Linked DNA regions of Homo sapiens: all the other regions are linked to region 1. The links are contacts of gene promoters, found by promoter capture Hi-C in human tissues and cell types (Jung and others, 2019). All regions are on one chromosome and are shown on one strand. The core of a region is centred on a gene start or on the middle of the fragment in contact, and the rest is flanking DNA. Distances in the headings are between cores, read along the strand shown. Region 1 holds the start of ZNF556 (zinc finger protein 556). Region 2 holds the start of GNA15 (G protein subunit alpha 15). Region 3 overlaps GNG7 (G protein subunit gamma 7). Region 4 holds the start of CELF5 (CUGBP Elav-like family member 5).

The links. Contacts are between HindIII fragments. The study calls those that stand out against the background at their distance.
Region 2: the fragment with the promoter of GNA15 here is called in contact with the fragment with the promoter of ZNF556 in region 1 in 6 of the 25 tissues and cell types used here (dorsolateral prefrontal cortex, lymphoblastoid cells, mesenchymal stem cells and 3 more).
Region 3: a contact is called between a fragment that was not itself captured here and the fragment with the promoter of ZNF556 in region 1, in 1 of the 25 tissues and cell types used here (small bowel).
Region 4: the fragment with the promoter of CELF5 here is called in contact with the fragment with the promoter of ZNF556 in region 1 in 8 of the 25 tissues and cell types used here (IMR-90 fibroblasts, adrenal gland, aorta and 5 more).

Annotation. Positions count from the first base shown.
Region 1 is chr19:2,866,013-2,869,054 of GRCh38, forward strand. It overlaps ZNF556 (zinc finger protein 556), which reads left to right and starts at 1,323. Exons shown (of 4, transcript NM_024967.3): 1 at 1,323-1,412. The coding sequence starts at 1,410. The HindIII fragment of the contact is 10,595 bases long and covers 1-3,042 here.
Region 2 is chr19:3,134,131-3,137,369 of GRCh38, forward strand. GNA15 (G protein subunit alpha 15) reads left to right here and starts at 1,903. Exons shown (of 7, transcript NM_002068.4): 1 at 1,903-2,465. The coding sequence starts at 2,321. The HindIII fragment of the contact is 27,733 bases long and covers 1-3,239 here.
Region 3 is chr19:2,605,554-2,608,578 of GRCh38, forward strand. All of the region lies in intron 2 of GNG7 (G protein subunit gamma 7), which reads right to left. Among named protein-coding and RNA genes, the nearest start is that of MIR7850, 24 kb to the right of the region's middle. RefSeq lists enhancers at 1,764-2,618, 2,489-3,025, 2,619-3,025. The HindIII fragment of the contact is 9,077 bases long and covers 1-3,025 here.
Region 4 is chr19:3,223,126-3,226,228 of GRCh38, forward strand. CELF5 (CUGBP Elav-like family member 5) reads left to right here and starts at 1,536. Exons shown (of 13, transcript NM_021938.4): 1 at 1,536-1,873. The coding sequence starts at 1,615. RefSeq lists a silencer at 1,357-1,476. The HindIII fragment of the contact is 19,492 bases long and covers 1-3,103 here.

The DNA.
Region 1 (3,042 bases), core at 73-2,572:
CAAAGGTGGGCGGGGACCCTATAAAATCTATTTGCTCTCAGCCCTACCAACAGGCTTCCAGGGATTATGCCTCCTTGATTATATGTCATTTGCCTGTAGACTATTCATCTGCCTGCACATTGAGCGCTCAGCTGTGGTGTTTGAGTTTTCATAGGTACACAGATATTCGTGACCTTGATTTTTACTTGAGAAACTGTGAGGCAAAATATCCCCAGAGTGCTTTAACCTCAAAATATTGACCTAGGATACAGTTGTTGCCACAGTTTTTTTTAAGTGTGTTTTCGGTTTTTTTGTTTTGTTTTGTTTTCTATGTTTTTGTTGTTGTTGTTGTTTTTGAGACGGAGTTTCCCTCTTGTTGCCTAGGCTGAGTGCAGTGGGGCAATCTCAGCTCACTGCAACCTCCGCCTTCCAGGTTCAAGCGATTCTTCCCCCTTAGCCTCCGAGTAGCTGGGATTACAGGCACCCACCACCACACCCGGCTAATTTTTTGTATTTTTAGTAAAGACAGGGTTTCATCATGTTGGCCACACTGGTCTCAAACTCCTGACCTCAGGTGATCCACCCACCTTGGCCTCCCAAAGTGCTGTGATTACAGGCATGAGCCACCGCGCCCGGCTGGCTAGACCATTGCTAATGGCTCAAGAGTTCAGTTCTAGCAATTGTGCTGACCCTAGTTAGGGAATGGTAAAGCTTTCGTTGGTCACTCACTTGACCCCATGGGCCTCCCCAGGTGTCTACTGGTCAGGAGAGAGAGGGGACCTCCTCCAGTGTCATGGAATCTGACAACAGACTGAGGACAGAAGAAGCTGCTTTTTTCTACGGTGGATACCCCAAGGGCCCAGGTTTCCCTCTAAGTCAGTACCACTTTCATTTCAGGAAGGAGACCACCGTGGATGGGGGCTGCTGCCTGCAGGACCCGAGACCTGAAAACTGACCAATCAGGCAGCTGGGGTGGGGCCTAGAGAACTGACCAATCAGGGGAGTTGAGGTGGAGCATCCGGATGAGAACTGTCAATCAGGGGGGTTGGGGCAGAGCCTGGAGACCTGTCAAATCAAAGGAGCTGAGGCAGGGCGTGGAAACATGACCAATTAGGAAAGCTGGGGTGGGGCCTGAAGAACTGCCCAATCAGGGGAGCTCAGGGGATAGCAAGCTGACCAACCAGAAGAGGAGGGGCAGAGTCTAAAGAACTGTCCAATCAGGGGAGTTGGGATGTGACTGGTGAACTCTCCAATCAGAGATGAGCAGAGAAGAGAACCATCCAATCACAGCCCCAGGGGCGGGGCGTTGCTGTCCTCCCTGCAGAGCACACCCGGCCTGCCCTGAGTGACCACAGGTGTCCCCGTCGTGCTCACCTGCACCGGCTGCGAGGAGCAGGGAGCTCCTCAAAGAGCTCAGGAACGGACAGGACATGGTGAGTGCAGGGCAGGAGCCGAGCCGGAGCCGGAGCCCTGGGAGGGGAGGGTTGGAAGCGGCCAGAACACGCTGAAACTCCCGGGGGAGCCGCCCGGAACCCCCATGCAGCCTCTGTCCCTGTGTCACCCCCGGGTCCTGCGGGGAGTTTCCTCCCCTGCCCCAGTCTTCATTCCCTGGAAAGTCGTAGTTGTCAGGACGCTGGGATGGAGGGGAAAAAAAGGCAGAAATGACTCCTGCCCTGTGGGGTCTCGCGAAGTTAATTGGAAGAAAAACTAACCCAAAGTACAAAAAACAAAACAAAAAAAAAAAAAACCTCACCCCAGCGAGGCGGTGCAACAGCCCCAAAGCAGAATGCGCTTTGGATGCAGACTTTGGGCCCAGGCCCACGTCCCTGGGAGGGGCGAGGGGTGGACAGGTGGTGCGGGCGCTCCACGTGGCGGCACGGGCTGGCCTGACCCCAAAGGCCCGCAGGCCGGACTCCAGCCCAGCCGCCCCTGCCTGGGCCTCTCTCCTTCTAAAGATTGATTTGGTTACTTGAGCCTCAGATTTTTTCAGTCAATGGAACATACAGTAAATAATAGAGTTTGAAAGATAAAATATTTCCAAGGAGGTGAATTTCAGAAAAAAATAAAGTTCTCGTCTTACATTCCATTTGTTAAAAATTCTAGCGTGCCTTTTTTTTTTCTTTTTATTTTCTGTTCCTTTTTTGCCCGTGTGGTTAAGTTTCTCACATCTGTTGTTTTATTTTCGGTGATGACAAATGGGATTCCAGGGCTTAGCCCTTGACGGGGCTCCCGGGAAAAAGAATCGCAGAGAAAGAGAGAAAATCTCTCTTTTATTATGACACGCCCCGAAATGAATACATTCCTACAAGAAAAAAATGTTTGGTATATAATTTGGTGAATTACAAAAACTCGCTAAAATATCAGTTATTCTCCTTTTCCAGGATGGAGAATTTGTGATAGATGATAATTCTGTTCTTTTATTTTTTGTTTTTATTTTTTGAAACGGAGTCTTGCTCTGTCACCCAGGCTGGAGTGCAGTGGCGCGATCTCGGCTCACTGCAACCTCCGCCTCCTGAGTTCAAGCGATTGATTCTCCTGCCTCAGCCTCCCCAGCAGCTGGGACTACAGGTGTGTGCCACCACGTCCAGCTAATTTTTGTATTTTTAGTGGAGACAGGGTTTTACCATGTTGGCCAAGCTGGTCTCCAACTCCTGACCTCAGGTGATCCACCCGCCTTGGCCTCCCAGAATGCTTGGATTACAGGCAGCATGTGCCACCATGACTAGCTAATTTTTTTTTTTTTTTCAGATGGAGCCTCGCTCTGTCACCCAGGCTGGAGTGCAATGGCGCGATCTCTGCTTACTGCAACCTCCGCCTCCTGGGTTCAAGCGATTCTCCTACCTCAGCCTCCCGAATAGCTGGGATTACAGGCACGTGTGGCCACACCCAGCTAATTTTTGTATTTTTAGTAGAGACGGGGTTCCACCATGTTGGCCAGGCTGGTCTCGAACTCCTGACCTCAGCTGATCCACCCACCTCAGCCTCCCAAAGTGCTGGGATTACAGGCGTGAGCCACCACACCTGGCCCCTTTATCACTCTTTTATATTCACTCATAGGGATAT
Region 2 (3,239 bases), core at 653-3,152, 270 kb after region 1:
TCAGGTGTATTAAAAAATATATATATTTTACACGTGTGTGTATATATATACACACATATATATTTTTATGTATAATATACATATATGTATATTAAAATGTATACTTTTATGTGTGTATATATGTATGTGTATATATGTATGTGTGTCTATATATTGTGTATATATATGTATGTGTATATATGTATGTGTATATACATATATGTATGTGTGTCTATATATTGTGTATATATATGTATGTGTATATATATGTATGTGTGTGTGTGTATATATATACATAGAGAGAGAGGGAGAGTTTTGTTTTGTTTGTTTCTGGAGACAGGGTTTCACTATGTTGCCCAGGCTGGAGAGCAGTGTTATGATCTCGGCTCACTGCAGCCTCCATCTTCGGGGTTCAAGTGATTCCCTTGCCTCAGCCTCCCAAGTAGCTGGGACTACTGGTGCGTGCCAACATGCCCAACTAATTTTTGTATTAGTAGAGATGGAGTTTCTCCATGTTGGCCAGGCTGGTCTCAAACTCCTGACTTCAAGTGATCCTCCTGCCTCGGCCTCCCAAAGTACTTTGATTACAGATGTGAGCTCCCGCACTCACCTGGCCAAATTTTTTATTCTTTTATTTTTTATTTTTTTTGAGATGGAGTCTCACTTCGTCGCCAGGCTGGAGTGCAGTGGCACGATCTCAGCTCACTGCCACCTCTGCCTCCCGGGTTCAAGCGATTCTCTTGCCTCAGCCTCCCAAGTAGGTGGGACTACAGGCGTGCACCACCACGCCCGGCTAATTTTTGTATTTTTAGTAGAGACGGGGTTTCGCCGTGTTGGCCAGGCTGGTCTCGATTTCTTGACTTTGTGATCTGCCCGCCTTGGCCTCCCAAAGTATAGGGATTACATGCGTGAGCCACCAGGCCCAGCCTAAAATTTATTTTATTATCTGTTCTTTAACTAGAACCTTAGGTAAGGAGGTCTGGGATCTGTGTCTCTTGGCTACCGTGCCTGGCACACAGTTGGCGCTCCATGAATGCACGCACAATGAAGGGATGGCCCTGCCTGGAATCTGCCTGGTAGGCGTCTAGACTCTGGGGCCCCGCAGGTGAGGGATAGGCTCCCGGCTCTGCCTTGTGCCAGCCCCACCGGTCACTCCCCTGCTCTATGCCTCAACCTCCTCATCAGTCAAACAGGGATGACAGTAGTAACTATACAGGGTGATGTGAGTGTAAAACCAGCTAATGTGAGCCAAAACCCGGCTAATTTTTGTATCTTTAGTAGAGACAGGGTTTCGCCATGTTGGCCAGGCTGGTTTCGAACTCCTGACCTCAGGCAAGCTGCCCACCTCTGCAGGGTGGATCACCTGAGGTCAGGGCAGAGTCGCTGGAAACAGTCCATGACACCTGGCCTGAGCTGTTTCTTAAAAATATATCAGAAGGGCCGAGCGTGGTGGTTTATGCCTGCAATCCCAGCACTTTGGGAGGCCGAGGCGGGTGGATCACCTGAGGTCAGGAGTTTGAGACCAGCCTGGCCAACGTGGTGGAACCCTTTCTCTACTAAAAATCCAAAGTTAGCCCGGCGTGGTGGTGGATGCCTGTAATCCCAGCTACTCGAGAGGCTGAGGCAGGAGAATTGCTTGAACCTGGGAGGCAGATGTTGCAGAGTCAAGATCCTGCCACTGCACTCCAGCCTGGGCAATAAGAGTGAAACTCTGTCTCAAAAAAAAAAAAAAAAATATATATATATATATATATATATATATATATATATATATATATATATACACATATATATATATACACACACATATATATATGATATATATATAATGTATCAGCAGTAGCACGGGTCTGACGGTTCCTGATTGGCTCCGAGGAGGGGGACAGCTCCGGGTGAAGCCTGAGGAGAATCCGCCCCTTCTCCAGAAGGAGGAAGAAGGGCCCTGCTGGTCACACAGGACCCAGTCTGCGGTGGGGGTTTTCCCGCCACCGCCCCGCCCTCCCTGGGGCCCCCACCTCACCCTCTCCTGGCACCCTTCACCGTCAACCTGTCGGGCCGGGTCTGAGCAGGTCTGGAGGTGGGCGGGGAGCCCTGGCCTCCCCACCTCCTCCCGTCCCCACCCTGTTCCCAGCACTCAAGCCTTGCCACCGCCGAGCCGGGCTTCCTGGGTGTTTCAGGCAAGGAAGTCTAGGTCCCTGGGGGGTGACCCCCAAGGAAAAGGCAGCCTCCCTGCGCACCCGGTTGCCCGGAGCCCTCTCCAGGGCCGGCTGGGCTGGGGGTTGCCCTGGCCAGCAGGGGCCCGGGGGCGATGCCACCCGGTGCCGACTGAGGCCACCGCACCATGGCCCGCTCGCTGACCTGGCGCTGCTGCCCCTGGTGCCTGACGGAGGATGAGAAGGCCGCCGCCCGGGTGGACCAGGAGATCAACAGGATCCTCTTGGAGCAGAAGAAGCAGGACCGCGGGGAGCTGAAGCTGCTGCTTTTGGGTGAGTCCAGGGTCGGTGGGCGGTGGGTGGTGGGCAGTGGGCGGTGGCCAGCCGGCAGGGGTGTCGGGGCAAGGAGGCGGATCAGGCTAGGTCAGACATTGGCATCGTGGAGCCGTCGCCTCCTCCCAGGGAATGGGGAGCCTGGAACCCATTTTCCAGATGAGAAAGACTGAGGTTCAGAGAAGCCAAGTTCCTTGTCCAACGTGCGACCAGCGGCCAGGTGCCCAGGCCTGTCCACTGTGTGGGGCATATACAATAGCAGACGTGGCTCTACCGGGCCCCTGCCGGGCAGGCCCAGCACGCCCTACCTGTCTGTGTCATGGCGAGGGAATGATGAGCTCAGGTGTGCAACCCGTTCTGGCCAGCCCACCCGTAAGGGAGGGGCCGGCTCCAGCCTCTCCTTCACCAGGACGCTCCCTCTCGCCTTTACCTCCCTGCCATGGCTGGAGAGGGCTTGTCTAGGGCTCCTTTGGGGGCTAGAAAGGATGGATTGATTGGTTCATTGGTTCATTCATTCATTATTCATTCATTTAAGATTTATTGGGTAGCTCCCAGGAACGAGGCAGCCAAACAGGGGAAGATATTTCTGTCTTCCTGGATCTCATTTCCTGTGAAGGAGCCAAGACATTTAGTCTGTAAACTCATAAGCAGATAAAATAATTCTGGCAACAAGAATTATCTAGGAGAAAACAAAACAGGGTGATGGCTTCCATGCGGAGGCTTCAGATGGGGGAGTCGACGTCAGTAACGGTTCAAGATTCTGAACTCTGGCTG
Region 3 (3,025 bases), core at 194-2,693, 260 kb before region 1:
CCCAGGCTGGAGTGCAGTGGCTTGATCTTGGCTTACTGCAACCTCTGCCTCCTCAGCTGAAGTGATTCTCCTGCCTCAGCCTCCCGAGTAGCTGGGATTACAGGCATGCGCCACCACACCCAGCTAATTTTTGTATTTTTAGTAGAGACGGGGTTTCACCATGTTGGCCAGCATGGTCTCGATCTCCTGACCTCGTGATCTGCCCGCCTTGGCCTCCCAAAGTGCTGGGATGACAGGTGTGAGCCACCGCAGCCTGCCAAAATCTCACTCTTATAAGGACATTTGTAATTGTTTAGGGTCCACCTGGAGAACCCAGGATAATCTGCCGTCTGAAGATCCTTCATGTGATCACTTCTGCGACCTCTTTGTCCTATAAGGGAAAATTCACAGGTTCCAGACATTTAGGAGCCAATATCTTTGGGGGCATTACTCACACGACATACAAAGTCTCTTTTCAGGGCAAACATAGATGCTCACAGGAAATGCCTCCATGCCCCGCAGTCGGGCAAGCTTCCAAGCAAGCAAGCCGCTTTTAAGAGTCAGGAAGAGGCTGGGTGGCTCACGCCCGTAATCCCAGCACTGTGGGAGGCCGAGGTGGGTGGATTGCTTGAGCCCAGGAGTTTGAGACCAGCCTGGGCAACATAGTGAGATCCCATCTCTACAAAAAATACAAAAATTAGCTGGGCGTGGTGGTGTGCACCTGTAGTCCTTGGGGGGCTGAGGTGGGAGGATCACTTGAGCCCAGGAGTTGGAGGCTACAGTGAGCCGAGATTGCACCACTGCACTCCAACCTGCGTGACAAAGTTAGACTCTGTTTCTGGCCAGGTGCAGTGGCTCATGCCTGTAATCCCAGCACTTTGGGAAACTGAGGTGGGCAGATCACCTGAGGTCAGGAGTTCGAGACCAGCCTGACCAACATGGAGAAACCCCATCTCTACTAAAAATACAAAAATTAGCTGGGTGTGGTGGTGCACGCCTGTAATCCCAGCTATTCAGGAGGCTGAGGCAGCAGAATCGCTTGAACCCGGGAGGTGGAGGTTGCGGTGAGCCAAGATTGTGCCACTGCACTCCAGCCTGGGCAACAAGAGTGAAACTCTGTCTCAAAAAAAAATAATTAATTAATTAATTAATTAATTAATTTAAAAAAAAAGTTAGACCCTGTCTCAAAAATAAAAAGTCAGGATGAGAGAAGGCAGCCAAGGCAAGGAAGACCAATAACATGCTCGGATGGTGCAGTCTCTTTGGAACATTCCAAAACTAAACTGAGAAGGTTCCCATTCTCGGTGATGACAAGTTTCTGGAACTAGATAGATAGTGCTGGTGTTTGCACGCAGTGTTCATGGAAATAATGCCATGGAGTTGCAAACTTTTGAACAGTAAACAAGGGCCGGGCACCGTGGCTCATGCCTGTAATCCCAGCACCTCAGGAGGCCGAGGCGGGGGGATCATTTGAGCCCAGGATTTTGAGACCAGCCTGGGCAACACAGCGAGACCCTGTCTCCACGAAAAATTTAAAAATTAGCTGGGCATGGTGGTGTGTGTCTGTAGTCCCAGCTACTCAAGAGGCTGAGGTGGGAGGATCACTTGAGCCCAGGAGGTTGAGGCTGCAGTGAGCTGTGATCGCACCACTGCACTCCAGCCTGGGCGACAGAGCAAGACCCTGTGTCAAAAAAAAAAAAGAAGGCCAGGTGTGGTGGCTCACACCTGTAATCCCAGCACTTTGGGAGGTCGAGGCAGGCAGATCATCTGAGGTCGGGAGTTCAAGACCAGCCTGGCCAACATGGAGAAACCCTAACATTTTTAGTTTCTACTAAAAATTCAAAAAATTAGCCGAGCATGATGGCAGGCGCCTGTTATCCCAGCTACTTGGGAGGCTGAGGCAGGAGAATTGCTTGAACCTGGGAGGCAGAGGTTGCAGTGAGCCGAGATCGCACCATTGCACTCCAGCCTGGGCGACAAGAGTGAAACTCCATCTCAAAAAGAAAAAAAAAAAGAAAGACTAAAATGGTAAAAAAAAAAAAAAAAAGAAAGAAAGAAAAGAAAAAAGAAAAAGAAATACATATTAGGATGGGGCAAGCTAAACTACATTGTTATGTATTTTAACAACACATAAAACCCACTTGGGGCCAGTCTGCAAGTACCTCCCATGTAGGCTCAGCCTGGCACTTGAACCCCGTGCCCTCCGCCCCCCGCCCCTCCCAGTGGCGTCTCCGCTTCTCACTTCAGAGGCAGAGCTGTCATCGTGGGCACTGGGAAGTAGCCTGCAGTGTCAGCACAGACCGGCGCTCACCAACGACACGGCACGGAGGCTTTCTAGGGAGCAGTCCCCCCAGGACAGCAATACGTTCAGGCGACAGCGACACAGGGCAGCAACAGCGGTTCCCTCCTGGCAGGCAGCCAGACGCACACACGCACGCAGACCACACCATCCAGAAAGTTCACCTGCGACCTGAGACGCAGCTCTTTGAGGGAGATCAGAAGATCAGATGGTATTTGAGAAAAAAAAAAAAAAAAAGGTTAAGCCAAGTCAGTGGGAAGGTGGAGGAAAAAAAAAATAAATAAAGGTTAGGCTGAGGTCGCCGCCCTGCCACTCATGACACAGAGCGTGGCACGTCGGTTTCACACCTAAAAGTCAGAACGATTCACAGGTGGCGAAGCGTGGGTGGAGGAAAAGAGCGGGGATGTCTGAGGAGCAGAAAGACCGAAACGCAAGAGTAATACCTGCTGCGGAGAGGTTCCGCCCACGTGGGATTTGCCCCTGGGAAAAAAAAAAAAAGTCCCCGAAGCCCCTGCAAGGCAAGGCCTGCGGGCTGGAGGGACGGGCTCTTCACACACACGGGAGGACAGAGATCGTCTCTGGAGGTGGGCGCCCCAGCAGGCACACTGACGGCCTCGGTGCAGCTCCCCTGCACCCCCAAATGACGCAGGTCAGTAATCCAGGGACGGGCAGCAGGCTCACGTGTCCCCAGATGCAGGCACACCTGTGCCTCTCGAGTCATCTGCAGAGTCACGAGACCAGCAACCT
Region 4 (3,103 bases), core at 286-2,785, 360 kb after region 1:
AGGCAGTGGTGCGATCCTGGTTCACTGCAGCTTTAATATCCCAGGGATCAACCGATGCTCCCACCGCAGCCTCCGAGTAGCTGGGACCAACGGTGCACACCAACCACTCCTGGCTGATTTTTTTTTTTTTTTTTCTCAAACAGAGTTTCACTCTTGTTGCCCAGGCTGGAGTGCAATGGCGCAATCTCGGCTCACTGCAATCTCCGCCTCCCGGGTTCAAGCGATTTTCCTGCCTCAGCCTCCTGAGTAGCTGGGATTACAGGCATGCACAACCATGCCTGGCTAATTTTTGTGTTTTTAGTAGAGACAGAGTTTTCTCCATGTTGATCAGGCTGGTCTCGAACTCCTGATCTCAGGTGATCCACCTGCCTCAGCCTCCCAAAGTGCTGGGATTACAGGTGTGAGCCATCGTGCCTGGCCTGTTTTCTTATTTTTTACAGCAATGGCGTCTCACTATGTTGCTCAGGCTGGTCTCCAACTCCTGGGCTCAAGTGGTCCTCCTGACTCTGCTTCTCAAAGTGCTGGGATTACAGGTGTGAGCCACCACGGCCAGCACGTATTATTATTTTTATTAATATTATTGATGAGTTTCATACGTAAAGGATCACGGGCACTTTAGAGCTGGGAGATACTTCAGTATTTCTCCTATCCTGTCATTATCAGTGCGAGCCAGTCTCCCTCCTTGTTGATGACATTATTGATGAGTTACATACTTAAAGGGCCAAGGACACTTTCTATGTGTAAGCACCCTATAGAACTGGAAGATACTTTTACCATTTCTCCTGTGCTGTCGTGATTAGTGGGAGCACTTTGTCTTGCTCTTGATTAATTATTATTAGTGTTGTTATTATTAGGTGTTTTTTTTTTTTTTTTTTACCAAGACGGAGTTTTGCTCTTGTTGCCCAGGCTGGAGTACAATGGCACAATCTTGGCTCACTGCAACCTCCGCCTCCTGGGTTCAAGTGATTATCCTGCCTCAGCCTCCCGAGTAGCTGGGATTACAGGCACCCCCCGCCACCGAGCCCAGCTAATTTTTGTATTCTTTAGTAGAGACGGGGTTTCACCGTGTTAGCCAGTCTGGTCTCGAACTCCTGACCTCAAGTGATCCACCCACCTCGGCCTCCCAAAGTGCTGAGATGACAGGCGTGAGCCACCGCGCCCAGCCATATTATTAGTGTTATTAATATTATTGATGAGTTACCTACTTTAAGGATCACGGGCGCTTTCAACGACAAGCCCCCTACATTATCCCAGCAACTTTTGACATTCTTCCGGCCGATGCCCTCCGCGGGAGCCGGCGGGGACCCCTGGGAAGCCGGCTAAGGCCCGTCCCGCCCGCAGCTCCGCCCTCGCCCACCCGTAGGCGGGGCCCGGGGCCTTCCGGCCTCAGTTTCCCCCCGCGGCCCGGGGATGCGGGGAGGCGCCGGCTGCCCCGCGCGGCGCGGCCGCCAGGGGCCGCTGCGGAGCCGCCTTTGTGGTCCCGATGCCGGGGCGGGCGCGGGCGGGAGGAGGGCGCGGGGGCCCGGGAGGGAGGCGGGAGGCGCGGCCGCCGCTCCAGCTGCGAGTCCGCCCGCCGCCCGCCGCCGCCGCCGCCGGCTCGGTCCCGCGCCCGCCATGGCCCGCCTGACGGAGAGCGAGGCGCGCCGGCAGCAGCAGCAGCTCCTGCAGCCGCGGCCCTCGCCCGTGGGCAGCAGCGGGCCCGAGCCCCCCGGGGGGCAGCCCGACGGCATGAAGGACCTGGACGCCATCAAACTCTTCGTGGGCCAGATCCCGCGGCACCTGGACGAGAAGGACCTCAAGCCGCTCTTCGAGCAGTTCGGCCGCATCTACGAGCTCACGGTGCTCAAAGACCCCTACACGGGGATGCACAAAGGTGGGCGCCCGGCCCCCTCCCCCCTCTCCCCCTCCCTCCGCCTCCCACCCCACCTTCCGGCATCTTCTCTCCCCCATCACCATCCCTCCTCTGCTCACCTCCCTCCTCTGCCTGCCTCTGCCGGAGCATCGGTTCTTACCCCCTCCCTCCCACCCACCCCTCCTCCCCTCTCTGGGGGTGCAGCTGACAGATCCGAGCGGGCCCCCTCCCCTCCTCCGCCCCCTCTCCCTCCCTCCCCACCTTCCGGCATCTCCTCTCTCTCTCCCTCTCTCTCTCCCTCTCTCTCTCCCTTTCTCTTCTCTCCCATCTCCCTCGACCTCTCATCCTTCCCCCCACAGCACCCTCTCTCTCCCTCCCTCCCTCCCTCACCCTTCCATCCCCCAGACCCCCACCCCTTCCTCCCTCCCTCACCCCACTCTTTCCTGCCCGTTTGCCAGGGGAGCCTCGGGAACGCCGGCACCCCTCCCTGCCCCCCCACCCCCATTCATTCAGCCTCCCCAGGCCCCGTCGGGGAAGTTTGCACCTGCGGACTCCATTGCTTTGGTTATTTTCACAAAGCCAGGCCGGCGGGGCAGGTCCGGCCGCGGGGGACACGGATGCCCAGGACCCCAGGCTAATCGGTAACTACAAAGGAAGACGGGTTGGGGGCGCCCGGCTCGGGGGGACGCGCCCGCCTCGCCTGCCTCGGGTGGCGGAGAGGCTCCCGTCGCTGCCCACCCCCTGGCCCCACCACCTCCGCGTGGATCAGCATTCTCTCCTCCATTTCTCTGCCCTCCCCCTCCCCCGCCTCCACCTTGGGCTCAAGTTGAAACTGGCCGAGCCTCTTAGCAATGTGTTGGGGTCTCAGGCCCAAGACAATGAGCTTGGACGTGTCCATCTGGGCAGAGCCCAAATTCTGGGGTGGACAGGGAGGAGGAGGGAGGCGTGGGCGGCCTCAGGCCTGTCTGCCTCCCTCCCACTGGATTCTCCCTCCGATGGCATCCCGGGTGGGGGTGTCCGGCAATTGTATCCCCAGCCCTTGGTTCCCATCATGGGCCCAGCGTCTGAATTGGGGTGGCTTTGACAGCCTTCCGGTCAGGTGTTGGGGACTGGGGGTGCCACTTCAAAGGCCTTGTGCTGGACACCCCCGGCCCTCCCCCTCCCATCCTCCAGGAAGACCCTGGAGAGGCCTTGGGGAAGGACCGGGGCCCATGACCTATTTTACACCCACTTTTTCCCCAGCGCTGCGTG